7 separate regions of the Homo sapiens genome follow, and regions 2, 3, 4, 5, 6 and 7 are each linked to region 1. The links are contacts of gene promoters, found by promoter capture Hi-C in blood cells and fetal thymus (Javierre and others, 2016). All regions are on one chromosome and are shown on one strand. The core of a region is centred on a gene start or on the middle of the fragment in contact, and the rest is flanking DNA. Distances in the headings are between cores, read along the strand shown.

What was found. The method cuts DNA at HindIII sites, captures the fragments that hold promoters and counts their contacts. A CHiCAGO score of 5 or more calls a contact.
Region 2: a contact is called between a fragment that was not itself captured here and the fragment with the promoter of BIN3 in region 1, in 9 of 17 cell types (naive B cells, total B cells, M1 macrophages and 6 more). The highest score is 7.4, in naive B cells.
Region 3: a contact is called between the fragment with the promoter of TNFRSF10D here and the fragment with the promoter of BIN3 in region 1, in 2 of 17 cell types (naive CD8 T cells and fetal thymus). The highest score is 7.9, in naive CD8 T cells.
Region 4: a fragment that was not itself captured here is called in contact with the fragment with the promoter of BIN3 in region 1 in 1 of 17 cell types (M2 macrophages); the score reaches 5.0 in M2 macrophages.
Region 5: the fragment with the promoter of RHOBTB2 here is called in contact with the fragment with the promoter of BIN3 in region 1 in 4 of 17 cell types (fetal thymus, M2 macrophages, M0 macrophages and 1 more); the score reaches 8.7 in fetal thymus.
Region 6: a contact is called between the fragment with the promoter of TNFRSF10B here and the fragment with the promoter of BIN3 in region 1, in 13 of 17 cell types (neutrophils, monocytes, total B cells and 10 more). The highest score is 18.2, in neutrophils.
Region 7: a contact is called between a fragment that was not itself captured here and the fragment with the promoter of BIN3 in region 1, in 1 of 17 cell types (M1 macrophages). The highest score is 5.6, in M1 macrophages.

Annotation. Positions count from the first base shown.
Region 1 is chr8:22,666,896-22,671,029 of GRCh38, reverse strand. It overlaps BIN3 (bridging integrator 3), which reads left to right and starts at 1,909. Exons shown (of 9, transcript NM_018688.6): 1 at 1,909-1,986. The coding sequence starts at 1,979. RefSeq lists enhancers at 1,740-1,799, 1,557-2,186 and a silencer at 2,050-2,209. The HindIII fragment of the contact is 6,679 bases long and covers 1-3,114 here.
Region 2 is chr8:23,013,822-23,017,795 of GRCh38, reverse strand. RHOBTB2 (Rho related BTB domain containing 2) reads right to left here. Exons shown (of 10, transcript NM_015178.3): 8 at 3,018-3,106; 9 at 2,053-2,158; 10 at 1-544. The coding sequence ends at 327. Among named protein-coding and RNA genes, the nearest start is that of RHOBTB2-AS1, 16 kb to the right of the region's middle. RefSeq lists enhancers at 3,154-3,203, 2,705-3,469. The HindIII fragment of the contact is 9,071 bases long and covers 1-3,974 here.
Region 3 is chr8:23,161,333-23,165,325 of GRCh38, reverse strand. It overlaps TNFRSF10D (TNF receptor superfamily member 10d), which reads left to right and starts at 1,299. Exons shown (of 9, transcript NM_003840.5): 1 at 1,299-1,540. The coding sequence starts at 1,391. RefSeq lists an enhancer at 1,442-1,561. The HindIII fragment of the contact is 1,686 bases long and covers 800-2,485 here.
Region 4 is chr8:23,040,516-23,044,461 of GRCh38, reverse strand. TNFRSF10B (TNF receptor superfamily member 10b) reads left to right here. Exons shown (of 9, transcript NM_003842.5): 2 at 1,219-1,324. Among named protein-coding and RNA genes, the nearest start is that of TNFRSF10B, 27 kb to the left of the region's middle. The HindIII fragment of the contact is 7,583 bases long and covers 1-3,946 here.
Region 5 is chr8:22,998,298-23,002,661 of GRCh38, reverse strand. RHOBTB2 (Rho related BTB domain containing 2) reads right to left here and starts at 3,114. Exons shown (of 10, transcript NM_015178.3): 1 at 2,557-3,114. RHOBTB2-AS1 (RHOBTB2 antisense RNA 1) reads left to right here and starts at 2,857. Exons shown (of 2, transcript XR_007060857.1): 1 at 2,857-2,983. RefSeq lists silencers at 2,405-2,454, 2,785-2,954, 3,175-3,434. The HindIII fragment of the contact is 10,673 bases long and covers 1-4,364 here.
Region 6 is chr8:23,067,167-23,071,540 of GRCh38, reverse strand. TNFRSF10B (TNF receptor superfamily member 10b) reads left to right here and starts at 2,510. Exons shown (of 9, transcript NM_003842.5): 1 at 2,510-2,790. The coding sequence starts at 2,647. It also overlaps the pseudogene TNFRSF10B-AS1. RefSeq lists enhancers at 190-689, 1,011-1,305, 2,087-2,256, 2,277-2,326, 2,867-3,126, a cis regulatory region at 2,520-2,525 and promoters at 1,980-2,650, 1,418-4,374. The HindIII fragment of the contact is 4,380 bases long and covers 1,228-4,374 here.
Region 7 is chr8:22,948,759-22,952,522 of GRCh38, reverse strand. It overlaps a transcript of RHOBTB2 not described here. Among named protein-coding and RNA genes, the nearest start is that of PEBP4, 23 kb to the right of the region's middle. RefSeq lists an enhancer at 1-391. The HindIII fragment of the contact is 2,687 bases long and covers 430-3,116 here.

The DNA.
Region 1 (4,134 bases), core at 660-3,159:
GAGGTCAGTTATAGTGTCAAAGGTTGAACTGGAAATAGAGCCGCAGACTCCTCCAGACTTGTAGTCCAGAACTTATCCATTCTAGTCCTCTAGGATGTGTCTGCTGCCCTCCAGCCCTGAAACAGACTTCTACTAGGATATAGCAGTTACCTAGGCTAAAACGTTTGGAAATATTTATCCCTGTGGGGCATAACTGAGGGAGGCAGAACATGGGGAAGGGAGGAAGCAGGTGGGAAAACTATTCACAGGTGCTAACTGCCAGGAGGCTCCTAAACCCACAACAGCCCTTCCATCCGTCACACTCTCTGCAAAGCAGCAAGGACTCTCTCTTTCCCTTTACCCACACTCTCTGCCCAGGCTACCCTTTGGTGACTTCTGCTCTTCCTCTTTACTCTTCAAGGCTGCTCTTGTGCTCATTTTGGCCTGTTTCCTGAGGAACAACATGGTAATGAAGCTGATCTGCATGATGTGCTTGGGGATCCAACCTCCATTGGAAACGTCAATTGAGTCAAACTATGGACTCTCAAGAATGGAAACAGAAAACACAAATGAGAGACTGCATCCTGTGGCCCACCCTCCTACCTCTCCTGCTCAAGCCCTCTACTCCACCCTAGGAGGTCAAAACAAATCATACACTACTTCTGCTCTAGGTCATTGGTCATATTTTTCCCGCTAGGTCATTGATTAGCAACCCCCTAAGCAGTCCCTGAAACAATCCCGGTCCATCTGAGGAAGGAGAATTCCTAGAGAGAAGGTCACTGGGGGCCCAGCAGCACCTGCACGGGCCTCACTGCCTTCTTGTCTCTCTTCCAAGGCAGGGAGGTACTTAGCGGTGAGGAAACCAAGTCGGCCCAGAATCCCAGGCAACTTGTGAGCCACTAAGGCCCTGAATTCTGACTTTGGGAGACCCGAGGCAAGTCAGCTGCTTGCTTGGTCCTGTCTGTGTCTTAGCCATGGTAAGTTCCCTCTGCCTGGAGCCTCGTCACCCCTCATCTCAGATTCACCTGGCTAGCCCCGATTCTGCCTTCAGGGCTTGGCTTACACACTGGCTCCTCCTGGAAGCCTTCCCCAAAACCCCATGTGCTACTTCAGGGTCCCCTTCTAGGCTGCCACCACACCTCATTCTATCCTATCCTATAGCATGATTATAATTGCCTGCTTGTCTCTCCCTCCAGGAAAGTAGCTCTGGGAAGGAACAAGAGCAGGGCAGATACTTCTCTGAGATAGCTGTATCCTAAGGTTGGCTCGGTACCTGACACTAATATTAGTGCAACTAGTATTAGTTAAATGAAGGAATAGAACGAATGGGGCAATTTACATCATTTGAGTCCTGTAGAGGAGACCAAAGGGAAGGGCTGAAAGGCAGGGAACAACTCATACTCTGCGTCTTATTGTGTTGAATAACTCTAGGAAACATTCCAACCTGAAAAGCACCTATCTATTGATATTCAGAGCCCTGTGCCATCTTGGAAGGGAAACGTCCGTTTGTTTGTAACAGGTAATGCATGTGTGGTGTACAAACTGTAAAAGATAGGAAAGAGCATTCAGAGAATGTAAGTTTTCCACTTTCTCCATCCCAAATGGCTTCTTCTCCCACAGACAATTGCTGCCACTGTCTCTGGATTAGAAACCACTTGACAGAGGGGACAGCCCGGCTAAGGGCCCTGCATGGTCAGGTGAAGAGATCTTTAGGAGTCAGTGTTGAAGGCAGAAAACGCCCCCAGAGGTTCCCCTCATCCCCCGTTGCAGCCTGTGTGTCTAAGCGCTTGGCCAGAGCCAGAGAGTCGCCGGCAAGGGAAACTCCGCGGCGAGCACGCAGCAGCAGAAGGGTTAACGCGCCGGGCTCCGCCTCCCAACCGCCTCTTCCGGGCAGAGAGGCGGGCTTACGTCACTTCCTGGAGACTGGTTGAATCCGGAAGTGACCCTAGAGAAACGAGTTGTGGCTGAGGACCCCGGCGGCAGACGCAGGTTCGGGACCATGAGCTGGTGAGTGAGGCCCAGGCGGCGGGAGCTGCTGGACCCGCGGACCCGCGAGGCCCCTGGCCCTGTGTCAGTGCCGCGTCCCGGCTCCCTCCGGTCCCGCGCGACCCCTCCGCCCCAGAGCAAGGCCCGACAGCCCCTGCCCTAGGGTCGTTCCCTCGGTGCTTTCCGGAGTCGCAGTCTCTCAGCAGGACTCCCGGGGAGAGTGGCGGATGATCCTCTTAGCCTGGGACTCCGCGTCTGACCCGTTTTGCCGGACTCGCGTCCTCCTAGCTCCTTGAAGTGAGGGACTTCCTTGTTCCCTCCTTTTTTAAACACCCATTGAGGTGGAGTCAGTGTCGTCTTTCTCTCCTGTGGGCATCTCTGCCCCGCGCCAGTCCCTCCAGAGCTGTGGCCCTCGCTGTGGCAGCCTGGACCCAGTTCACTAATCAAAACCCACTCCCTTCTGGGTAACTATCCTCTTTGCACGACTTAGCAGGCTTCAAAAGACAAGGAAAACTTGCTTCTCTTTTTAAAGGGGCCAGAATTACACTCCGCACACACCCTTCCACTGTGGGATTGGACTGGTTTTAATCATTCCAGAGCTATTACTCACTGCCTGCCCTCTAAATAGGCATGGTTAAGTTTAAACTTATGGGAACTATCATGCCATGAGAAAAGAAGCCAGGGAGTCTTAGAGTAATAGAGTCACAATTCCAGTTGCTGCAGTATGATGTGATACTTGGGTCATAGTAGACACTTCATAATGGTGTATTTATTTTGTAAGACTCAGTTTGCCCAAAAGGCAATCCCCATTTGTTGCTCTCGATTATTTATGTTCACAGGAGAGAATTGTGACTTGCCTGCCTTCCTGGGGCTTTCTTAGAGGTTAGAGAATACTCATATGCAGCACCTTACCTTACCGTCAGGCCCAAGGACCTATATAGCCACAACCCTGGACCTCAGGGGATTCAACTATAGTGTGTGAATAAATTGAGCCCCAGAGATGTACAAGATTAATCAGCCCATGGACATAGGGAACATATTTGCCACTCTGTCCTCAGAGGCTAGTGTGTTTGTTTATGCAAAGCGCATGATAACCAGTTATGAATGAATTAAGATAACAGAATGTCCTTCAGGAAGGCTTTTGAAGCTTAATTTTGGCCATCAGTGGAGAACGCAAGCAGCTGATATCAGTCAGTGTCAGGGATACTTCTCTAAAGTAAAATGCGAACCATCTGTCCCCTCCCCCACCTGTTTCTTAGACCAAGATTGATGGACAAATGTCAGACAATCACCGCAAGCACGGGAGGAAAGCCTGAAGCAATGTCCTAATAAGCCCCGGCAGGAGCTTCTGCTTTTCCCTCCACCATTTGCTCCAGGAGGCCAATAAGGGGCTGGAGCCTTAAAAAGCTACCTTCCCTGTCTTGTTATAACCTAGTTAGTGGTGGGCAAAGCGGCAATTCTTCAGTTCCCTTTCCCAGAGGAATTACGTCCTTTCAGTGTCATTCTGGGCCCCCCAGTCTTGCAATATAGATATCCTTTTGGCTGCTGCGTCTTGAATCTTTGGAGTGTTCTTACCTAATTTTTCAAAGTGAAAATGAGGCAGTACAGATGCTTTATATTGCCTAGATTGGCCTTTACTGAACCAATCTTTCCTTCACAAGTTGGGAGAAGAGCACAGCAGAAACTAATAAAGGTAAATGATTCTCTGGGTGATCCGAAGCAGGTTGTTTCCACCTGTCTCACAGAAAGTTTCCCTTCTGAAAAAATAGTAGCCCATTCCTTAAAGGTTATCCTGTCAGGTTGGAGAGAATTGAGATTGACAACTGTCTAACAAGAGCTGAGATTTTCATCTAGTAGCTTTAATTTACCAGTACATGCACATCTTGGTATCTCCTTGGACTGAGAGTCACAGCCAGAAGGGTGGCTTTGTCCCTCAAAGCTGAGATTCCTTTCTCTTCCCCCTTAAAGGGCTTCTACGTCATCTCTTGCGTGGACCCTGACCCTGTCTCTCAAAGACGGGAACAGCACCGGCGCCTGGGCACACAATCACACTCAGTTCCTAGCTCAATGGCTGGCAAGGAGACCGGGGCTGGGTCCTTCTGATTCACTCCCTGAGTGGTTTTCCTGCCCCCAGAATGAATCCATCCATTCATGTGAGACTGGAATTCT
Region 2 (3,974 bases), core at 691-3,190, 350 kb before region 1:
GAAGCCCTGGAGGCTGGGAGGCTTTCCCTTTGACTCTAGGGCTCTCAAACCCAGAGATAAAATGCCAGGGCTCTTCGCTCCTCCAAGCAGTTGTCTCCCGTCCTGCTTTGGGTCTGGGGACCTCTGCAGGTGGTTCCCGTTCTGCTCCACAGGGCTCAGCTCCTCTCTGGCTGAGCCACGGTGGCTGGTAAGAAGAGCTCCACCCTCTGGGTCCTGGTTACGTGGGCCCCCTGGTCCCTGTAAGGTGGATGGGGTGATGCGGAAGAGCAGAGGGGTGAAGGCGGATGGGGACAACAGCAGCAGGGTCAGAAGAGGGTGGCAGCATCTCAGACCACAGCCGAGGAGGAAGATGGGGATGAGGAGGAGGCTGCCGAGGAAGACGGGGAGGATGGACTGTTCCAGAAGAGCCAACGCCGTTTGGGCTGCCGCTTGAGGTGGAGGTAGTCCTCCTTCTCACGCTCCTTCCGTGCCCGCTGGTAATGATCTTCCTCCTTCAGGTACCACACAGGTGGCCACCGATGCTTCTCGAAATACTCCTGGTTTTCTGGAGCAGAGAGCAGGCAGCTTGGTTAGAAAGGAGGCAGAGGGACAAGAGGAACGTGGGACACCAGCCCTACCCCACCACAAGGCCTGCAGCAGGCCTCCAGCCCAGCCCCCAGCACATCCCCATGACCCACGGCACATGAGCCTCCGAGGCAAGCAAAGTTCCCAAAGAGCAGGGCTGAAAGTCAGCACTGGGGAAGGCCTTTCCAGCTGGGTTCCTTTCCAAAGACGGGCGATCTAGACAAGGGCTTCCTGTGCGTTGGGAATGAAACAGAGGCGAAGGATAAGGGAGAAGGGGTAAGCGAATGTCAGCCAGGAGATACTCAGCATGGTTAGGGGATGAGAGTGGAAGTTTCTGGCCAGAGCTAAGGTTCCGAGGGGGAATACGGAGTCAGGACACAGCAGGACACAGCAGCAGACCAGAGGAACGGCTGGCCTTATTCTGCAGGGTATGGGGGGCCATGGAAGACTACTGTTTCAGTGGAAGGTCTGGAAGCAGGGAGTGATGCTATTGGACCTGTGCTTTAGAAAGAAAATGCTAGCCTGGGTGCAGTGGCTCATGCCTATAATCCTAGCACTTTGGGAGGCCGAGGCAGGCAAATTGCCTGAGGTCAGGAGTTTGAGACCAGCCTGGGCAACGTGGTGAAACCCCGTCTCTACTAAAATACAAAAAATTAGCCAGGCATGGTGGTGGGTACCTGTAATCCCAGCTACCCGGGAGGCTGAGGCATGAGAATCACTTGAACCCAGGAGGTGGAGGTTGCAGTGAGCCGAGATTGTGCCACTGTACTCCAGCCTGGGCAACAGAGCAAGACTGTCTCAAAAAAATAAATAAATAAATAATTTTTTTTTAAAAGTGTTGTAGTAGTGAAAAGGAGAGATCGGGGTGGAGACTTGGCAGCATGAGGCAAAAACACGGCAGCAGGGAGGAGGGTCACGGCAGACTGGAGGGAGCCCAGAGAGGACCCCATGGAAAGAGTGGCAGACCCTTCAGGGAGGCCAGGGACACCTCTCCCTGGAGCCTGTGCAGTTTCTGTTGAGTTCTAGGGCCTAAGAAATTAATCAAGAAGAGACAGGAGGCCTCAGAGGATGCCCAGACCTGGGTGGTCCAAGCTGTGGCCTGTACCCATTCCTGGGTTGTACCATCAATTTAGTGGGCCATGAGCAGCATTAGAAAGATGTATATATTTTCCTATATGTGTCCTGGGTCACAAGATGAAATGTATTTCTTACGGTATTCTGTCCAGAAAAGTCTGAAATCTACCAACTTTAGTCCAGTATCCTCTTCATACCTCTGAGAATGAGAAGCCCAGAGAGGCAGGGTGAGTTGCCCTCCAGGCCAGCACTTTTCCTGGGGCCCCTTGGCTTGGCTGGAGGCTCCTTTGCAGGCTGCTCCCAGCCCCAAGGTCAAGGATTACTGGCAGCCTCGGGGTCCCTGGGATTACATGGGAGCTGTGCACCCCTAAGGGGAGGGCAGCAGGTACTGCCAGGACTGGCCCCGATGCTCACCTGGGGACATGGCCTTCATGTCTCGGGGGAACTTGCGGCACACGTTGTTGTAGTTGGTGCAGATGTGGTGGAGACACCAGTCGGCCAGCTGGTACGCACAGTGGAACTGGGGACAGAAGGGAAGAACGTCTGTACTGAAATCCCCAGGGGAGAGGGTCTGCATAGACACCTCCAGCTGCCTTCAGAGCTGAAGCTCTGGTGCAGGGCACGCAGAGGCCCTGCAGTTCTAGAGAGCCTGCGCCAGAGGCAAGGCCACACAAAACTGAGGATGATGATGCTGCCTCAGGCTCCTTGGCACCACCGCCAGCACCACCATCATCTCACCTCTGTTCTGCCCACTCCTGGCATCCTCGCTGCAGACACCAGAGCCCTATGTAGTGGCTTCATACTGCATCTGCCCTCCTCAGATCTCAACCTACCTGACTTCTCTCTCCTCCACATCTGGGATCAAGGCAGCCTGCACGGAGGCACTGACAATGAGCTAAGGGAGCTGCCTTCCCAGGGGTGTCTGCAAGCCCTGCCTGAGCCGTGCTTCCACTCCACACACTAATCTTTGGTGGCTGAATTTCTGGCACTGTGAAGGCCACTGTGGGAGATTTGGCTTGTTTGTTTGGGATTAAGGGAGTAGGCGGTTAATTTCAGATGGAAAGTCCTCAGTGCCCCTTAAATGACCTCAGGCAGGCAGCAACCATGTGTAAGCCTGAGCCTGGGGTTCCCTCCCCAGCCCTACTGCTGCCTAAAGCCTCATCCCTTCCCCACTTGGTCAGCTCCCCTCCGGGTACACCAGGGAGTTCCCCAGCTGCTTCCTGGCATGGAGGAGGAGATGGGCTACGCGCAGTCAAAGAGCCCAGTCCGATGACAGGTTCTCCCGCATAGACCATCTTCCACCCCTTCCCATTCGCAGCCAATGGGCAGGCAGAGTGTAGAACTGAGACTGTTGTAGATTCCCTCCCCTGCCATGATACCTGAGCCAGTTCCAGGAACACAAGGACGTCCCCATCGATGTCCACCATCATCTGGGTCGCTTCCATCAGCCCGGTCACTGTGTACTGCTCTGTAACACACACGGCCACCAATCAGCTGAAGAAGCACATGACCTGTGCTCACCCTGCCCCACCACATCCCCCAGCTCACTTCAGGGTGAGGAAAACCAGGGCCCGGGCAGGTCCGGACAGGCCAGGAAAGGCCCCAGGCTATGACGTCTGCTGCCACCAGGGGGACCCCAGGGATGACAGCAAGAGCTCAACGGGGTAGGGTAGGAAGAGAAGGAGGACATTGGAATTACCTAAGAGGATTTTTCAAACTACGTATGTCCCGTGACATAATCTGATACAGGTAGGGTCAAAGTTCCCAACAGAACCAGCCTCTGATACAAAAGGGAGAGTGTGTGAAACCTCATGTCTGCTGATCACAGAAAAAGGCTGAGAACTGTGAGTTAGAACTAGGAGTTAAGTCTAGTTGTTTGTTTTAATTTAAATTTTGTAAAAAATTGTGTACTAACCTTGTATTTTAAGTTAAAACACTTATATTGAAGAAGTAAACACCCTTGGTTCTGAATTTTAATTAGAAGTATCAGTATAAACTCATGAGGTATCTTATCTTTAAAAAGATCAATATATTTCCCAGCTCTGCCCCCAGAAAAGACCTAGAAACAACAGTCATCCCAGTACAATGAGCATTCCTAGTGCACACAAATACCAGTTCCACTTCCAACACAAGAAACTAGGACTTCCTGGAGAAATGGCTGATTCCAGGTCTGGGGCACAGAACCTTCAAGAGGAACCTAGAACATCTCATCATTCCAGATAGAGAGGAAGCTCGTAAGACTCTGGAGTCAAGCCAAAGAGTGCAGGATTTGAGCTTCAGCAAGGATAACTGCAATTAACTGAAACCAATCAAGAATGTTCAAATCTAAGGGGCCA
Region 3 (3,993 bases), core at 50-2,549, 490 kb before region 1:
TGCCCGCCACCACGCCCAGCTAATTTTTGTATTTTTAGTAGAGATGGGGTTTAACTATGTTGGCCAGGCTGGTCTCGAACTCCTGACCTCTTGATTCGCCCACCTCAGCCTCTCAAAGTGCTGGGACTACAAGCGTGAGCAACCGCGCCCGGCCCTGGCTCACATTTCTGACCCTAGGTCATTGTCTGGGCCCTGGAAGGTGCTCAGGGTGATCCATCGCTCAAATCCAAGCCTGTGGAGAGGATGACATTTCATTCCCAGGTTTCTCATGAGCCAAAAAACCTTCATTTCTATAGCGCTATCCTCTTCTATCTACCATGTGAGGGGTCAGGAGCCGACTCATCCCAAGGGTCTAGGAGTCCTGCCATTGACCTTACTGCTTAGGGTCACAAGCTGGCACCCTTCAAAACCACACATTGGGTCTGCCCTCACAGCGGCAGTGTGTTCAACTGGATGGGGAGGTAAGTAGCCCAAGGTCAGACAGTTGGACCTGGGTAGACAATAGACTTGGGGACAGACTTTGGAAGGCACTCCCCTGATTCCCCTGTCTCCATGGGGCCTCAATACTAGAGCCCTCAAGGTTGGTCAGGGAGTGTTTGTGCTTTGACCATGCAAAGGGTGCCAGGTTGTGGCTAGGGATGCCCCCGGCGTTCCTCTCCCTCCTACCTACTCCTCAGCCTCTGCAGGTGCCTGTCATGGCCTCTGTGTCCTTCATTCTGTCCACTCATGTGTTCACTGGGCCCCTCCTTGGTGCCAGGCACCCGCTACTGAGGGATACCAAGCCCCTGCCAGAGAAGCTTGGAGCTGGGTCACAGCAGCAAGGAGGCTGGAGACATCAGTGGCATCAGTGCACTGGTCAGTGAGGCCGCTGTGGGAGGAGGGAGTGGGAGCAGAAGCTAAGAGTGGACTGAAGTCCTGAGGCCAGGAAGTAGTTCAGGGTTTAAGAAGAGGAGAGACAGGCGGCCCGGGGAGGGAGCAGGCTCAGGATGGGCCTCCAGTGCCTCCTCTGGAGCTCACTACCCAGACTACAGCAGCGCAGCGGGCAGCGCCTCAGCTCCTTCCCCTTCTGCTGCCTACAGCCTGGACAGGACCCGGAATCAAACCGCAGGCCCTGGGTCACCGCTGCCGGAAAGAGCCAGTTCCTGTCCGTCCATGCACCCACCCACACAACCTGGGCCCTCCTGGAGGTGCTGGGGGAGACCCAGCCTGAGTGCCTGGAAGTGACTGCGGGAAGGGAGTACAACTGACCACGCCTTTTTTCCGGGGTATAAAAGCGGAGGAGCACGTTCTATTCTGGCAGTGTAGCTGCGAGAACCTTTGCACGCGCACAAACTACGGGGACGATTTCTGATTGATTTTTGGCGCTTTCGATCCACCCTCCTCCCTTCTCATGGGACTTTGGGGACAAAGCGTCCCGACCGCCTCGAGCGCTCGAGCAGGGCGCTATCCAGGAGCCAGGACAGCGTCGGGAACCAGACCATGGCTCCTGGACCCCAAGATCCTTAAGTTCGTCGTCTTCATCGTCGCGGTTCTGCTGCCGGTGAGTCTCCGCCGCGGTCCCTGGCTGGGGAAGAGCGCACCTGGCGCCGGGAGTGGGCAGGGAGAGAGGGGGACACGGTGGGGATGCTTGGCCCGGGTCGCCTGCGGCCGGGCATGTCTGGGCAGGACGAACCCGCCGTCGGAGTCAGGGGAAGAGTGGGGTGCCCGGGCTGGGCAGGAGCGACCGGGCCGCGAGGGAGCAGAGCGCGCGCTCCCCCTGGCTGTCCCGTGCGGCGAGGACCGCACTGAGCTGCCCCAGAGGAAGTTCCAGAATCAGCGGAGGGAGGGAGTCAAGATGGAAACCCCGGAGTGAACCTCAGGAAGCCACAGAGCGGTTGCCTCTTTCGTTCGTTCGTTCGTTCGTTCGTTCATAACGTTAACCCAGGCCGGTCGCGGTGGCTCACGCCTGTAATCCCAGCACGTTGGGAGGCCGAGGCGGGCGGATCACCTGAGGTCAGGAGTTGGAGACCAGCCTAGCCACCATGGTGAAACCCCGTCTCTACTAAAAATACAAAAATTAGCCGGACGTGATGGCGGTCGCCTGTAATCCCAGCTACTCGGGAGGCTGAGGCAGAAGGAGAATCACTTGAATCCGGGAGGCGGAGGTTGCAGTGAGCCGAGATCGCGCCATCGCACTCCAGCCTGGTCAACAAGAGCGAGACTCCGTCTCAAAAAAAAAAAAAAAAAAAAAAAAAAAGTTAGCCAGGCGTGGCAGCCTGCGCCTGTAGTCCCAGCTACTCAGGAGGCTGAGGCAGGAGAACTGCTTGAACCCGGGAGGCAGAGGTTGCAGTGAGCCGAGATTGCACCACTGCACTCCAGCCTGGGCGACAGAGCGAGACTCTGCCTTAACAAAAACAGACAAACAAACAAACAAAATTAACCCTATGTTTACACTGTTACACGTGTTTCTTGGAGATCAGTTTAACAAACAGCCTGTGAAAAAGCTTTCCAACGCTGTTTTTTGTAACTTTCATTTCCTATAGAACCCTGAAAGTGGCAGGAAGCGGTTAACCAAGGTGCTTGCAGTCAGTGTCTTCCACTGCCACCCGTGTGTCCCCTCTGTATCCCATAGGCAGGACCGCGGGATGGCCCCTTCCTTAGGCATAAAAGATGTAAAGTTCTCGTTGTGAGTTGGGTTTGGAAACTGAGATTGGTAGTGGGGTGCACAAGAAGGACATAAAAATAAGATGTGCAGACTGCCAGGACTTTTTCTGAGTGACTGACGTTTCTGCCAACAGTGCTTTCTAAGGTTTCTTACGTAATACCAAAAAACAAAACGGGGAGGATAAAACAAGATTACATGAACCATGAGAGTCTCCATGTTTTCTTTCAACGAAGTAATACTAAATTCAGAACAGCAGTGACATTTTCACCTCTCAAAAATTACACAACTGACTTCTACAATAGTTTATAGTGGGTGGACCTACCTGAGGCAGCTAGAAGAATGGCTGTGTCAGGACAGTGGCCCTGAAGAGAGAATGTGTGGATGACCTGTGTAGACAAGACCAGCAACCTGAATTTCACAGTTTTGGGAATGTGAACTCTATGCGTCCCAAAGGAGGCTTTGATCCCTCCATCAATCTTGCCTTATTAAATGCATTTCAATGCACAGTTGCTTTTTAAAATTTTGGAGCTAGCACAAATCACATTAGATGTTTTATGGCAGTACATTCAGATTGATTTTCTTTTAAACAAGGGTATTGTATTTTACTACATGGGTAAGCCACAGGTTAATTCACTGTTGCCATCTAGAGGCAGCTGGTTATATCCCATCCCGATGGGATATAACCCAAAGCAAATTTGCCTTTGCTAATTCCAACAGCATTGTACTAAATACCCTTGTATGTATCGTGTGTCCACATGTCCATGCGCACCAGCTTATTGGGCAACTCCTTAGAAGTAGAATTTTACTTCTACTTCCGTGGGATAAATCATTTCAGAAGTTTCTTTAGATGTTTACGAATTTTCTTCCAAAAGACCATTGAACTCAGCTTACACTCACACCTAGTTCACACATGTGCCTGTATCCCTACACCCTTGTTACACTTAGCTTTCATTCGTTGCTAGTCTAGGAAGTAAAAGGTGATTCATCACATTGTTATGTACTTTCATTCCTTAATGGTATTAGGAATTTTCAAGGATACGGGAGTTTTGGTAGTGGGAGTAGATGACCGGGGGATCCAGATGAGACAGCAGGGGAGGGTGGCAGGGAAGACTGAATTCCCAGCTGTGAACTTGGAGAACCGTGGTCAGCTGGGGCCAGTCCCTGCCACCTGCCACGCCTGTAAATGGAGATAAGGTCTCCATCTTCAGGCTGTCAGGAGGACATCAGATGAGCCTGGAGCTGAGCTCAGTTCCTGACCCCAGGTCCTGGCTCTGTCAGCGTTGGACTGTTCCAATCTGTGTGACAGAGGCTTCCGCCCCGCCCTTCTCTTTATCAAAGTAGGAATCGAA
Region 4 (3,946 bases), core at 1,043-3,542, 370 kb before region 1:
AGTTGGAGTTTTTTATATATTTTAGATATTAACCTTTTATCAGATATACAACTAGCAAATGTTTTCCTCTTCCTGTGGGTTGCCCCTTCACTGTTGATCATCATTGGATGCACAAAAGTTTTTAATTTTTACATAGTGCAATTTATCTACTTTTTTTCCTATATTGCTTGTGTTTTGGGGATCACATTCAAGAAATCATTGCCAAATCCAAGGTCAGGAAGAATAGTTCCTATGTTTTCTTCTAAGTTTTAGGGTTTTCACTTTTATGTTAGATTTTGGATCCATTTTGAGTTAATTTTTGTATACGTGTAAGTTAAAGGTCCGAGGTCATTGTTTTGTGATGAGTCAATGTCTAGATTTCCCAAGACCATTTTTAAAAAGATTGTCCTCTCAATTAAATGGTCTTTATACCTTTGCCAAAAATTACTTGATCATATACAGTCATGCACCACATAACAACATTTCTGTCAACAACAGACTGCATATGTGATGGTGGCTCCATGCAATTATGTAACATGCTACACAGGTTTGTAGCCTAGGAGCAAAAGGCTATACCATATAGGCCAGGTGTGTCATAGGATACACCATCTAGGTTTGTGTAAGTACACTCTTCTGATGTTCACACAACACAATTGCCTAATGACCCTTTGCTCAGAACAATGTTGAGCAATACATGGTTGTACGTGCAAGTTCATTTCTGGGCTCTCTGGTCTATATGTCAGGCACCTTTTAAATCAGAAGTTCACTATTTAATGTTTGATCCTGTATCCCAATTTTTTAAGTTTGCTATATTATAACCCCCATTTATAAAAATGTGTGTCTGTGTGTATGTCTGTGTGAGAGAGAATAAGAGAAAGAGAGAAAGAGAGAATAGGCATACCTATGGAAAAATAGTGGAACTAAATGAGACAAAATATTAATGGATGCTATCTTTAGCTGAGAATATCACGTGTGGTCTGTGTATTCTTGTAAAAACTTTCCTTGCCCACATTTTCTGGAATGAACATGTTTAGAAGAGTTTTGCAGGTGTATGTTACTTGGCCTTCCCTGAAATATGAAGGGACAAACAAACACTAAAGGATGTTTGAGAGGTGAGAGCTGCAAGAAAGATGAGGGTTCTGTTTAGCTTGGGTGCCTGGGCTCAAGAGAATGTGAGTGGATCCTGGGAGGGGTGAGGTCTGGAAGCCACTCATGCCCATCCCTGCTTTGTCCCCACAGGTCTCAGCTGAGTCTGCTCTGATCACCCAACAAGACCTAGCTCCCCAGCAGAGAGCGGCCCCACAACAAAAGAGGTCCAGCCCCTCAGAGGGATTGTGTCCACCTGGTATGTTCAAGATGGGTCTCTAATCCTTGCCCCTCCTCCCCTTGTCTCCATGAGCTTCCAGTCTGTTTCCTTTGCACTTCCTTGTTCTTTATTCCACAGAGAGGCATTGGGTGCCTCCAGTTCAAGGCTCTGTCCTTCTGGAGCCTTCCTGCTAGGATGGTATCAAGACACACAAATGAATGAGACAGCCAAAGAAACTGATAGGAACCTTGAGAGAGAATTGAGTGGGACAGAGATGGGGCTGGTGAGGCCTCCAGGCAATGGTGACTTTGGGCTGACATCCGGAGGAGGGCAGGGCCAGAGGTTCAGAGAGCCAGGAAGAGTGCTCCTAGGAGGGTTCCACTGGAACAATTGCCAGGGGGCAAGAGTTGGAGAAGATGGAGCAACAGCAGGGGGCTGCTGTGGGGAGTGGAGGGTTAGGAAGTTAGAGAGACACGTGGGGTCAGATCCCACACAGATGAAGCTGGATTTTATTTCATGAGTGATGGATGTCCCTGAGAAGTTTTCAGCAGAGGGCCACCAGCATCGGATGTACATCTTGAGTGCCCACTCCTGGACTGAACCGGAGCAAGACAGGAAGCAGGTGGAGGGCCTTGAGTGTGAGGCGCTCCCCTGGGATGTTATGTGGTGTCCCGTAAGGTCATTTGAGCCCCCAGAGATGCAGCAGGAACCTGGCCTGAAGTGTGCTTGACTGTTGTGTTCGCCTCGCACTTCTTCCCCCTTTTCCCCCATGTGTATGAGTTAGGAATTGATTGCTGCATGAAGGTTTCCAGGGCAGGCAAGTGTGGCAAGCAGTGGCTTTTAAAATCCATTTACAAAGTTGCATTTCTTTTCCATGACTAAGGGCCACAGGAAAGGCTTGCCTGAGGGCAAACCCTCACATTGCACATGTGGGCTTGCCAGGAGCAGAGCATGGAGAAGGAAGAACCCAGCGTGAAGCAGACACAAACTCATCTGTAAATGCTCCTATTGCTGTGGTCCAGGGTCAAGACCAGGAAGCAGGACGGGAATAGGAAGGACTCAAGACATATTTGGGGTGTGGATGGATGACGTGTGGGGAATGAGGACAATCGAGGCACCAAATTCAACTGCTCAGGGTAACTTGGCCTCTGAGGGGACAGTGTGTGGCAGGGCTAGCAGTACACATTTGGGGACCCTAGCACATAGGTGATGCTTGAAGCCGCTGTCTTGAGTGTGTCCACCTGGAAGAAGTTGTAAATACTGAGGAGGGGCACAACTGAGCCCATGAGGATTTGAAGTTGGAGACGATAGGCCAGGGAGACAGGACTGCAATGGGCTGAGCAGGAGCAGTTGGAGAACTTCCATCCTAGAGGAGAGATGGCCCTTCCAGCCACAGGGAGCAGGCCATAGCAAGTGTCAAGGACTGAGATGTGGAAACTCCTCGAAATGTGCATTTCTCTTCCTGTGAATGAGGTCAAGAATCTGTTCATGACACAGACACTGTTTGTACACTGGTTCTCCTAGGTTTTCTTCACTCCTAGTAAGAGGTTAGGTTTTTTTTTTTTTTTTTTTTAAATCATTGAGTCACATGAATTCTTACAGATTAGGGAAATTATACATTGATTGATTGATTGATTGACTGATTGAGATAGGATTTCACTCTGTTGCCCAGGCTGGAGTGCGGTGGCAGGATCATAGCTCACTGTAGCCTCAACCACTTGGGCTCAAGCGATCCTCTCACCTCGGCCTTCCAAAGTGTTGGGATTACAGGCGTGAGCCACTGCGCTGGGTCCAAAATTCTAATAAAAATTCCCATATAACGCCGGGCGCAGTGACTCACACCTGTAATCCCAGCACTTCGAGAGGCCAAGGTGGGCAAATCACTTGAGGCCAGGAGTTTGACACCAGCCTGACCAACATGGCGAAACCCTGTTTCTACTAAAAATACAAACATTAGCTGGGTATAGTGGCGTGCCTGTAGTCCCAGCTACTTGGGAGGCTGAGGCAGGAGAATCGCTTGAACCCGGGAGGCAGAGGTTGCAGTGAGCTGAGATCACGCCATTGCACTTCAGCCTGGGTGACAGAGTGAGACCCTGTCTCAAAAAAAAAAAACAACAAAAAAAAAATTATCATATATCTTTGCAGTCATTTTGTGGTTTCCTATTTTGTAATTAAGTCATTGAGCCACATGGACTTCATTTTGTAGTAAGAGGAGAGTGAGGAAGACACATTATTATTTGACAGCCACCTTTTTGGTTGCCCCAACACTATTATTAAATAATCACGTTTTTATCAGTGACATGAATCACTATGATTATGTATGATACTTACATTATTAAGTAAGGTTTGTGTAATTTGGATTTTTTAGAATGTCTTTCAATATTAATAAAAATAATTCAGGAATCTTGTGGCTAGCATATAGGTGATTATGGTCTATTTTTTGCGTTTGTTTTTACTCATTCTGCCACTCTCTGCCTTTTAATTGCAGAGTTTAAACTATTTTCAATTAACATAGTTATTGACAAGAAAAGATTTGTTTCTGCTCTTCAGTTATTTGTTTTCTTTATGTCTTATATATATTTTGTTCCTCCCTTATCACCTTTTGAAAAAACTTTAGTTTATTTCTTGGCATGTACCATTTTCACTCACTTCTTTTCTTTT
Region 5 (4,364 bases), core at 1,865-4,364, 330 kb before region 1:
CTGGAGTGCAGTGGCATGATCTCGGCTCACTGCAGCCTCTGCCTCCTGGGTTCAAGTGATTCTCCTGCCTCAGCCTCCCAGGTAGCTGGGATTACAGGTGTGTGCCACTATGCCGGCTAATTTTGTATTTTTAGTAGATACGGGGTTTCGCCATGTTGGTCAGGCTGGTCTTAAACTCCTGACCTCAAGTGATCTGCCCGCCTTGGCCTCCCAAAGTGCTGGGATTACAGGCGTGAGCCACCACACCTGGCCCAGAGAACTGTTAAGAACTGTTATTCTAACCACAGGCTTCCTCCTCCCAATTCTCTCTCCTGAACTGAGGACCGGGAACCCCACTTTGACAGTTCCTGATCTCAAGTTGAGGAATGTGCTGGCGCCAGGAGGCAGCATCTGGGCTGTGGTTTCTGTTTTGTCGAGTGAATACCAAAACAGATATAATCCCAAATACAAAATATGTGCAGCTGGAGGATAAAGATTAAAACCCAAGAGCCAAAAGAACTTCTTTCTCAAGTTCCGATTCTCCCAGCATGTAGGTCTGTAGACAGAAGCGGGGGAATGAGGAGGCCTAATGGAGGGATGCCAGTTCTCAAATTCAGGAGCACCTTGACAGTGAGAATAATGCCAGAACACCAGCAGAGCAGTGCTGGGCCAAGTTCAGCTACTTTGTGATGAAAACACTGCTGCCCACCTGTGCTATGTCACCTCTAGAGTTAAGCAGTGGTCAGCCAATCAACAAGTGGAAATTGACAAATACTGTGCCATGAGTTTAGACATCAGACCTTCTGGGTTGCGCAACCCCTTCCATCCATTCCCCAGCCCCTTCAGCAGTCCCCTTGTCCTTCAGCTGCCTCTCTGTTTGTATCATCTCACCCTTTCTACCCTGTCCCAACTGCCTGACTGGCAAACTTCACTGTCCTATCTAGGAAGAGGCAAGTCACTTATATTTTCTGGGCATCAGTCTCCCCCTCTGGGAAATGGGTATGAAGACATTGGAAGAGTCTCCTGAACCGTGGTTAATTTGTGCCAAGAGAGGCTGGGCTGAAAGGAGGTATTTGTCTTCTTATGTAATGTGGTATTATATAATGCTAGATTGCATATCTATATGTGTAATTATATCTGTCTTTAAGATACAGACTGGCCCAATTCAAGTGTTAGAACTCTTAGTCTAATCAGGCCTGTCTTAAAGGAGGATCCTGTCCTGGAGAGAGTGTGCCAAGAGTAATATAATTTTTGCCCTAGGATGTTGCTGATGTTGTATCATTGCTGATGTATGGTGATACAGCCCACTCATTGCTGATATATGGTGATACAGCCCATTCAGTGAGCCTCTCAGCTTCCCCTCTCCCTCCGGCTCTCTCTTCTTCCCTGACTCCAGACTCTCCCTCACAATTGCCTCATCCCCACTCAATCAACCTCCATAAACTATGACCTCCTCACCACCCAGCCCTGGGCATCACAACCCCCAACTCACTCCTCTTCCATGACAATCGCAAAGTCACTGGCATGTGTTCCTTCCATCCCTGTCCCATGATCCCTGTGCCCCTCCAAAAACAGCCTCCTGCCCACCGCTCTCCCAGCTCTTTGTACTTGGTGCAAGCCAAAACCCAAGGTGTGCTGAAATTAGCTACAAACCTCGTGCTCTCCCAGTCCCACCCCCACACCCCTACACACACTCTTTGCAGAGCTCAGAAAGGGCCCCTTTCCCTCCCACAGCTGATAGGAGGCTTGTTCATCTGTGGCTGCCCTAGTCTGGTTGTCAAGGAAACAACAGAATCTCCCTGGGAGCCTGGCTTGTCTCCTAGCAACCAGTATCCCACATCATCTTACAAAATGGGAATGGGAGGAAAATCCTGAAAATGAAGGTAAAATCAAGGGAGATGGATTGAATGGAGAATTGGAAGGAGAAGAACAAAGAGAGAGTGGACTCCTAATTCGGGGAGGCTCCCACGGGGGTCGCTGGCATTGCAAGAAGCCCCGTGCAGATCCAACAGAAAGCAAGGCCCAAAGGGACCCTGAATGGTCAGATTAAAGAAATGCAAGCCTAAACACAGATAAGCCCCCTCAAACCTAAAATGTGGACACATCACCAAACACCGCCAAAGATCTCCCCAGTAGTTTCACAGAACTCAGTTACATAGACTGCAATGGAGTTGAGTTCAAAGAACCAGCTCCGGAACCGCCAGCAAAACACCCCAATTCCACTGTTGTTTTGTGTTTGTTTTCTTAACAGAATCACTCCCACCACTCTGGACCGTTTTTCCTTTTTTCTGACACGCTACTCTGCACACACACAAAATAGAAATTTAAAAATTTTTAAACATCGAGAAGGGGGAGGGGCACGACAGGCCGAAGCAATCAAGTCATCTTCCTTTCCCTAGAAACACCGGAAAGGATTAGGCTCCAGCCCCGCTGTACCCAGCAGCCGAAGCCAGAGCCCAGGGACTAGCGGGGCCCGGGGAACGTAGCGAGGGGCGCGGCAGGGCAGGGAGGGCGGAGCGGCGCGTCTGCAAGGGCTGCTGGCCACCCCGCCATAACCGCAAGCAGCCATCTACTTACACCACTACATGTGACGGGGTGGCTTCTAGCGTGAGGAACACATCTCTTCCTGCTGAGCACGCTCATTTTAGTGAAATGTCAGGGGTCCCTCCGCGCCTGCAAGTTGGGACGACGCCGGCGCCGCCGCGCTGCTGCTGGGCTCCAGCCTCCCGGCCAGCTCGCGGCCACTCAGAAACTCCGGCAGGGCAGCCCAGGCCGGACGTGGGCCCAGGAGCGGACGCGCGCGCTGCACTGCAGCCGCTGCCCCTTCCGGATCAGCATCGCCCCGCGCGCCAGGCGCCCAATGTCACGGCGGCGCGCGGAGCCGGGCTGCGGAGGCAGCGGGCGGCGCGCAGGGGCGCCGGGAGAGGGGCGAGGCCGCCGCCGCTACGCGCCCGGGCCCGCGGCGAAGGCGCTGCCGCGAAGACGCCTGGCGCTGCAGTCCCAGGTACCGCTCGCGACCTCCTTTTTTCATTCACAAAAAAAGGATAGGGAAAAAAAAAAGAAAAGAAAAAAACGGGAGGGTAAAAAAAGGAGGAGAAAAAAATCGCACCCAAGACGACAGCCGTGACGGGCCCCGCCCACTGCCGCGCGCAGTTGGTGGAAAGCGTTCGGGGGGCGGGGAGGGGGCGGGCGGGGGAAGAAGGGGATTGGACGCCCCGCAGATCCCGCCTCGCAGCACCGCTCCCGCCCACCGCCCGCGCTCTTCCGCCCCTCCCGCAGCGACGCCGCGGGGAGGGTCTCGGCTCGCGGGTCTGGGTGGCGCCGGTCCCTCCACCTGGCGAGGCGCAAAGGCTCTCCGGACGCCCACGGGGTTTTCCCCTTTCCTTCGGGAGGCGGGGGAGAACCTCTGAGAGGCATCCTAGTGCACCCTGGAAGGGATGCTAGTTGGAGGAGAACGTGTGGTTGTAAGCCCAGGCCCCCACCACTTGCCCACGGGGAGGCGACGGCAGGGGCAGTCGGGGGGGCGGGGGGCGGGGGCCGGGTAGGGACGAATAACCGGCGTTTCCATACAAGCCCTCTGCTGCTTTGGGAATTTTCGTGGCACTTGAGAGCCTTCCTCCCTCCATGGCCCTTAATGAGTTGTGGGGTGGGTACCTGTACCACGTTACCTGTCTCCCACCTAGGCCTTCTTCAGCGGGTCCCCACCTCCATCCCATCCCCCTCCTGTTGCCTCCTGGAGTTCAGTAATAGCTGCTAATCTCTGAAAGAAACACCATGAAGTGAGTAGCCTCGAAAATCGTCCCTAAGCCTTCTTTGGGTTTTCTGCCTCAATTTACCCCTCTGTAAAATAGAGAGATTCTAAGGTATAACATCTATAACCTGAGGGGTCCCTAGAAGACACTTTCCATATTCAAGGCTGGTTTTATCAGGATAATCTTTTTTTTTTTTTTTTTTTTTTGAGTCTCCCTCTGTTGCCCAGGCTGGAGTGCAGTGGTGCAATCTTGGTTCACTGCAACCTCCGCCTCTTGGGTTCAAGCAGTTCTGCCTCAGCCTCCCGAGTAGCTGGGACTACAAGTGCACGCCACTATTCCCAGCTAATTTATGTATTTTTGGTAGAGACGGGGTTTCACCACCTTGGCCAGGCTGGTCTCGAACTCCTGACCTCGGGTGATCTGCCTGCCTTGGCCTCCCAAAGTACTAGGATTACAGGCGTGAGCCACCATGCCCAGCCAGGATGATCTTGACTGCTAGTGTTAAGTAGTCAGCTCAGTCTGGTTTGATTCATCTCCTCAGTTACCTCTGGACAATTTTTAAAGCCCAGACCAGCCTGCCACCCACCTGAACCGCCTCCACCACTCCTCCATCTTGTGCTCTGAAAATGCAAA
Region 6 (4,374 bases), core at 1,261-3,760, 400 kb before region 1:
ATGGAGACCTTATTTCCATTAACAGGCATGGCGGTTGGCAGGGACTGGCCCCAGCTGAGCACGGTTTTCCAAGTACACAGCTGGGAATTAAGTCTTCTCTGCCGCCCTCCCCTGTAGTCTTGCCTGGATCCCCCCAGTCATCTACTCCCAGTACCAAAAACTCCTGTATTCTTGAAAATCCGTAGTACTGAGAGGTGACAGCTTGCTGGCAGTCCTCAACAGCCCTCGCTCGCTCTCGGCGCCTCCTCTGCCTGGGCTCCCACTTTGGCGGCACTTGAGGAGCCCTTCAGCCCACCGCTGCACTGTGGGAGCCCTTTTCTGGGCTGGCCAAGGCTGGAGCCCGCTCCCTCAGCTTGCACGGAGGTGTGGAGGGAGAGGCGCGAGCGGGAACCGGGGCTGCGCGCGCGGCACTTGCGGGCCAGCTGGAGTTCCGGGTGGGCGTGGGCTCGGCGGGCCCTGCACTCGGAGCAGCCGGCCGGCCCTGCCGGCCCCGGGCAATGAGGGGTTTAGCACCCGGGCCAGCGGCTGCGGAGGGTGTACTGGGTCCCCCAGCAGTGCCGGCCCACTGGCGCTGCGCTTGATTTCTCGCCGGGCCTTAGCTGCCTTCCCGACGGGCAGGGCTCGGGACCGCCATGCCTGAGCCTCTCACCCCCTCCGTGGGCTCCTGTGCAGCCGGAGCCTCCCCGACGAGCACCTCCCCCTGCTCCAGGGCGCCCAGTCCCATCGACCACCCAAGGGCTGAGGAGTGCGGGCGCACGGCGCGGGAGCACGGCGCGGGACTGGCAGGCAGCTCCACCTGCAACCCCGGTGCGGGATCCACTGGGTGACGACACCTGGGCTCCTGAGTCTGGTGGGGACGTGGAGAACCTTTATGTTTAGCTAAGGGATTGTAAATACACCAATTGGCACTGTGTATCTAGCTCAAGTTTTGTAAACACACCAATCAGCACCGTGTGTCTAGCTCAGGGTTTGTGAATGCACCAATTGACACTCTGTATCTAGCTAGTCTGGTGGGGCCTTGGAGAACCTTTGTGTCCACACTCTGTATCTAGCTAATCTGGTGGGGAAGTGGAGAACATTTGTGTCTAGCTCAGGGATTGTAAACCACCAATCAGCGCCCTGTCAAAACAGACCACTCCGCTCTACCAATCAGCAGGGTGTGGGTGGGGCCAGATAAGAGAATAAAAGCAGGCTGCCAGAGCCAGCAGTGGTAACACTGTGGAAGCTTCCTTCTTTCCCTCTGCAATAAATCTTGCTACTGCTCACTCTTTGGGTCCACACTGCCTTTATGAGCTGTAACACTCACCTTGAAGGTCTGCAGCTTCACTCTTGAAGCCAGCGAGACCACGAGCCCACCAGGAGGAAAGAACAACTCCAGACCCACTGCCTTAAGAGCTGTAACACTCACTGGGAAGGTCTGCAGCTTCACTCCTGAGCCAGTGAGACCACGAACCCACCAGAAGGAAGAAACTCCGAACACATCCGAACATCAGAAGGAACAAACTCCAGACACGCCGCCTTTAAGAACTGTAACACTCACCGCGAGGGTCCGAGGCTTCATTCTTGAAGGCAGTGAGACCAAGAACCCACCAATTCCGGACACAGTACCATGAAGGAATGAAAATACATAACAATGTGATGTATCATGTTTTATTTCCTAGACTAGTGACAAATGAAAGCTAAGTGTAGCAAGGGTGCAGGGACACAGGCACATTTGTGGACTAGGTGTGAGTGTAAGCTGGGTTCGATGGTCTTTTGGCCAACATAGTGAACCCCTGTGTCTACTAAAAATACAAAAATTAGCCAGGCGTGGTGGTGCAGGCCTGTAGTCCCAGCTACATGGGAGGCTGAGGTGGGAGTATCGCTTGAACCTGGGAGACGGAAGTTGCAGTGAGCCGGGATCACACCACCGCTCACCAATCTGAGCCACAGAGAGACTGTCTCAAAAAATAAACCACAAGGAAGGGAGGTAGGGGGAGGGGGAGGGAGGGAGGAAAGAGAAAGAGAGAAAGGAAGGAAAGAGAAAGCAGGAAGGACGGAAAGAAGACGAAAGAACGAAAGAAAACGAAAGAAAAAAGGAAAGAAGAGAGAAGGAGAGAACAGAAGGGGCAGGTGCCCCTGGGAAGGGGAGAAGATCAAGACGCGCCTGGAAAGCGGACTCTGAACCTCAAGACCCTGTTCACAGCCAAGCGCGCGACCCCGGGAGGCGTCAACTCCCCAAGTGCCTCCCTCAACTCATTTCCCCCAAGTTTCGGTGCCTGTCCTGGCGCGGACAGGACCCAGAAACAAACCACAGCCCGGGGCGCAGCCGCCAGGGCGAAGGTTAGTTCCGGTCCCTTCCCCTCCCCTCCCCACTTGGACGCGCTTGCGGAGGATTGCGTTGACGAGACTCTTATTTATTGTCACCAACCTGTGGTGGAATTTGCAGTTGCACATTGGATCTGATTCGCCCCGCCCCGAATGACGCCTGCCCGGAGGCAGTGAAAGTACAGCCGCGCCGCCCCAAGTCAGCCTGGACACATAAATCAGCACGCGGCCGGAGAACCCCGCAATCTCTGCGCCCACAAAATACACCGACGATGCCCGATCTACTTTAAGGGCTGAAACCCACGGGCCTGAGAGACTATAAGAGCGTTCCCTACCGCCATGGAACAACGGGGACAGAACGCCCCGGCCGCTTCGGGGGCCCGGAAAAGGCACGGCCCAGGACCCAGGGAGGCGCGGGGAGCCAGGCCTGGGCCCCGGGTCCCCAAGACCCTTGTGCTCGTTGTCGCCGCGGTCCTGCTGTTGGTGAGTCCCCGCCGCGGTCCCTGGCTGGGGAAGAGCGTGCCTGGCGCCTGGAGAGGGCAGGGAGAGAGGGGGACACGGCGGGGGTGCGTGGCCCGGGTCGCCTGCGGCCGGGCATGTCCGGGCAAGACGCACCAGTCGTCGGAGTCGGGGGAAGAGATGGGTCCCCGGGTTGGGCAGGAGCGACCTGGGCCGCCAGGGAACAGAGCGCGCGCTCCACTTGGTGTAAATTCCCGAATCCAGTGGGGGAGGGCGACAAGGAGGGAATTCCCGAGTAAGCTGCGTGAAGCCACGGAGAGGTCGTCGGACTTTGATTTTGTTTTCTTTCCTTACTTTCTGTTTCTTTCTCTTTTTCTCTTTCTTCCTTTCTTTCCCTCCCTTCCTTCCTCGCTCAGTTCCTGCCTTAATTTCTTTTTCTTTTGCGCCTTCGAATGAATTCCTAAAGGCGCTCATTGCAGATCGCTTTGAACCTGCGGCCGGCGAAGAACTCCCCTGTGGTCGCTGCGGCCCAGTGGTTCCGTTCCGTGCGCGGGAGTCGTCGCGGGCGCAGCTGGAGAGGCCCCTTCCCCTCCTTAGCGGCTGCGCCCCTACGCGTGCGGGGCCGCTCATCGCCAATGCCATTGTTTGGGGTTCCTTGGGAAAACGAGATTTAGGAGAAGGGAGTTGTGGCACTTGGGGCCTGACCTGCTTGATAATAGCAGCTGCATTTTGGCCTGGGAAGAGCCTTTCTTGCCACCTCTTGGCAAGTATCCGTGATAATGGGGAAGGGACAAAGAGTCGGCTTTGTAGGGAACAGCATGGTGTGCTCAGCGCCTGGAACTGCGCTTGGGGCCAGGAGAGGTTCTGAATCATCACATTTTACAGAGGAAGAGACCGCAGCTCAGAGTGGGGAAGTGTGTGGGCCTAGACCTAACTCAAGACTGTACAGAGGGGCTGGAAGGGAGAGGAGGAACAGTGAAAGGAAGGTCAAGAGAATGCTGGTGTTGACCTAGAAGAATGTCAGTGTGAAGCATTGGAGTTTCATGGGATATTGTTACACACCTCATGTTTTCACTGTTTCCGCCCCACACCACAGTATGTCCTTGGTCTCACCTCTGAGTGGAGGGAGGACCTAACTGTCCTAGTGAGGAGAGTGTACAGGGGCCTCTGCCTCCCCCTCCTGCTGTGGTTTCTGTGGGCCTAGGTCCCCAGGGCATCTTGCCTCTCTTTGGGTGGTGGATCTTTGGTCTCTGGCTGCTTTTAAAGATTTTTCTTAGCACTGGTTTGCAGTGATTTGGTTTGTTTGCTCTGTTGTGGGGTTTTTTTTTTATCTCTATAAAGAATTTTTTGGATTTTTGGCTTTAGACTTTCATGTTCTTTCTACTTGGAAGATTTTTCTGTAAAGAAAGCCACAACTGGGTTGTGTTGAATTTCTTGGATTTGGGGTTTTAGAGTTTATGTTCTCCTTGGAGACTTTTCTGTAAAGAAAGCCACAACAGCCGGGTCTGGTAGCTCATGCCTGTAATCCCAGCACTTTGGGAGGCCGAGGCGGGCAGATCACATGAGGTCAGGGATTCGAGACCAGCCTGACCAACATGGTGAAACCCC
Region 7 (3,764 bases), core at 524-3,023, 280 kb before region 1:
AAGAATTGAGGTTGCTGCAGACCATTATGGATTCACTGCTGGTAACAGTATAAAGAAAGTGCCTTTATTCCAAGACTTAGCTTTGGGGAAGAAGTACAGACTCCTGCCTTTAAGGGTACTGCTTTACTTTTGGGGCAGAAATCAGGGGATTTTAAAGGGGGACTTGGCATGCATGCATGGCATGCAGAGGAGGGAGCGAGCAGGTGGGGGTCTGCATGACTCACTTTGGTGCCTTATCTACCAGGTGGTTCAGCTGGTGCCACCACAAGCAGAACTAGGTTGTACAATGGCCATTGTTTCAAGATACTCGCCAGGTGGGACAGAGTTGGGTCAAGGGCATACTTTAGGTGGCAAATTGACTGTTGTCTCTCCCAGTGGGTCAGCGTTCTGGCTATGGAGGTTCTAAGTAAGCACGTAGTTAGATAAGCTTGCCCTGTAGGGAATGCCTGGTGAAGGGAAGGTAAAGGTTGTAATTACATTTCTAAAGAGCTAAGTAGAGGCTCTTTAACCATGGTGGCTCGCTCCTGTAATCCCAGCACTTTGGGAGGCCGAGGCAGGCGGATCTCTTGAGGTCAAAAGTTTGAGACCAACTTGGCCAACATGGTAAAACCCTGTCTCTACTAAAAACACAAAAATTAGCCAGGCTTGGTGGCGCACACCTGTAATCCTAGCTACTCGGTGTCAGGCCTCTGAGCCCAAGCTAAGACATCATATCCCCTGTGACCTGCACGTATACATCCAGATGGCCTGAAGCAACTGAAGATCCACAAAAGAAGTGAAAATAGCCTTAACCGATGACATTCCACCATTGTGATTTGTTTCTGCCCCACCCTAACGGATCAATGTATTTTGTAATCTCCTCAACCCTTAAGGAGTTTCTTTGTAATCTCCCCCACTGTTAAGAAGGTTCTTTATAATTCTCCCCACCCTTGAAAACGTATTTTGTGAGATCCAACCCCTGCCCCCAAAACATTGCTCCTAACTCCACCGCCTATCCCAAAACCTATAAGAACTAATGATAATCCCACCACCCTTTGCTGACTCTCTTTTCGGATTCAGCCCGCCTGCACCCAGGTGAAATAAACAGCCTTGTTGCTCACACAAAGCCTGCTTGGTGGACTCTTTACATGGATGCGCGTGACACTCAGGAGGCTGAAGTTGGAGAATCGCTTGAACCCGGGAGAAGAAGGTTGCAGTGAGCTGAGATCGCGCCACTGCACTCCAGCCTGGGTGACAGAGTGAGACTCCATTTCAAAAAAAAAAAAAAAAAAAAAAAAAGAGCTAAGTAGAAAGTGGGAAACGGGGAAAAGGAGGAAAGAAAAAAGAAAGGAAAAAAAAATTTTTAAACCTTTTTGTCTTAGAAAAATGGGGTTGCTCAGTTACATCATGATAGGATAGGCTATGTTACAGTACTGATATCAGTTAAGAGGAAATTATTTGGGCAGATAGTAAGGGTAAGGAAGTCCTTGGTAAGGTTTTTCTTCTAATGAAAAACAGCCCCCAAATCATTTTCTTTTCTAACAAAGAGCAGCCTATAAAATAGAGCTGCAGACATAGACAAGTAAGCTAGAAACTTGCAGCGGTGAATGCCGGCAGTTGTGCCAATAGGAAAAGGCTACCTGGAGCTAGGCATGTTCCAAATGGCGGCTCCGTGTTCCCTTCTCTTTGCCACTCCTTACTTCCACGTGTACAGTAAGAAGCAGACAACACAGCACAGACCAAGTGGAAAGCCCTTTGCATAATAAGATTAGAATGGGGTAGCTAGCCTACCCTGCGTGTTATGTAAATTTCACAACTGGTCCAACCAATCTGTGGGCCCCATGTAAATCAGGCACCACCTCCTCAAGCCAGTCTATAATATCCAGTGCACTCAGGCACAGGCCAGAATTCCCGTTGAGACCCCTGTCTCTCTTGCAAGAGAGAGAGAGCTGTTCTCTTTTCTCTTTCTTTTGCCTATTAATCTTCCACTCCTAAGTTCTCTCCTGGTGTGTGTCTGTGTCCTTAACCTTCTTGGCTGAGACAACAAACCTCAGGTATTTACCCCAGACAATGACGCCACTTCAGTATCATTAAATGATACAACTTAAGAGAGATAATATTTTCACTAGATAGAGTGGGCCAACAGCAAGTTGCAGTGTTGCTGCCTGTCTTAGATAGGGGTGGGGAGAAACTGGAGGAGCTCAACCCTGAAGAGAGTGAAGAGCTCCAGTCTTCACCATTGCAGATAGGGGCACATGGTCTCCGTTGGCTGAGAGGGGCTGGCATTCTTCCAGCAGCCCCATGCTTCCAACATGAGCAACTGGGAGGGTTCTGGTGGGTCCTCCAGAAACACCTTCCTCCAAGGGACCCAGTGGGTGAAGCCATGGCATCATCTGTTTATAATTGAAGGCCTGTGGACTCTATTAATTTAGTAGGAAACCTGGTGACCAAAGGAAGAAGGTCTCGTTGTCAAGTGATATTTTCTTGGGAGGCCCAAGCCCCTCAAAAAAAGTTTTCCCAAGGACCCCTACCAATACCAAGACAGAGAAGCTGCCATCAAGAAATATATGACCTACTTGAGAAGGCAAGATCTGCACAGGTAGAAAGTCAAGTGCAGATGCCCCTTGACCTATGAAGGGGTTACATCCTGATAAGCCCATCATAAATGGAAACTATTATAAGTCGAAAATGCACCTAATACCCCTAACCAACTGAGCATCGCAGCTTAGCCTAGCCTACCTTAAATGTGCTCAGAACACCTACATCAGCCTACAGCTGGGCAGAATCATCTGGCACGAAGCCCATTTTATAACAAAGTGTTGACTCTCTCATGTAACTTACTGGATGCAGGACACAGCAGCATGTGGTATCAGGTTGTTCACCCACGTGATCGTCTGGCTGAATGGGAGCTGCACTCTCTGCACTGCCCAGCATCACGGGGCAGTATCCTACCACATACTGCTAGCCCAGGAAAAGATCGAAATTCACAATTTGAAGTATGGTTTCTGTTGAACGCATGTTGCCTTTGCACCATCATAAAATTGAAAAATCATAAATCAAATCATTGTAAGCGGGGGGATGTCTATAATGATGTCTCAGCCTGAGTGATGCTGGCCCAGGCGACCATTAGGAAAGCTTGAAGAAGGCACCGGGCCAGAGCTGGGCATTTTAGGTGGCGTGGGATTTGGTAGCCGGGTAACGGGGGTAGAGAGCATTCCCAAGGCAGGCCCCAGACAGAAGGGGAGGGAGCTAGAGGAGGCCCAGAGACAGGGCACTGGGGACAGCCTGATTGTTCAGAAATGTTATTACTCCCTAGCCAACCAGCTTAGGAAGTCCCCCCAAGGCCACTCATTTCAGAAACCTTTCCCAGTCACATCTATGGAAAAATACTCAGGCTGCACATATACCCAGGCTGGGCCCCAGGCCGGCCTTTGGGGAAGGCTCCTTCCCTCCATCAGATTGCATTCCTGCCCCACAGGATTGCGCTTCCGAAGGGAGACACACAGGGATCGGCAGTGAAGTCAACTCAGGCACATTCATTCAGAGTTGCCAGGGTCATCTGATCAAGGACAGAAACACCAAATCATAGTCCTCAGAGGTGAGGTGGGGAGAGGGATCAGGAGAGCGCCATGGGAAAGAGTGGAGGCCCAGGGTCAGTGTGGCTGGCTTAAAACCCAGCCACTGCCATTGACCAGCAGTGAGCCTTGGGCGAGCTCTCCCACTCTCTGTGCCATTTCCTTGCCTGAAAATGGGGCCAGTCGCCGCACATCTCATAGAGTATTTCT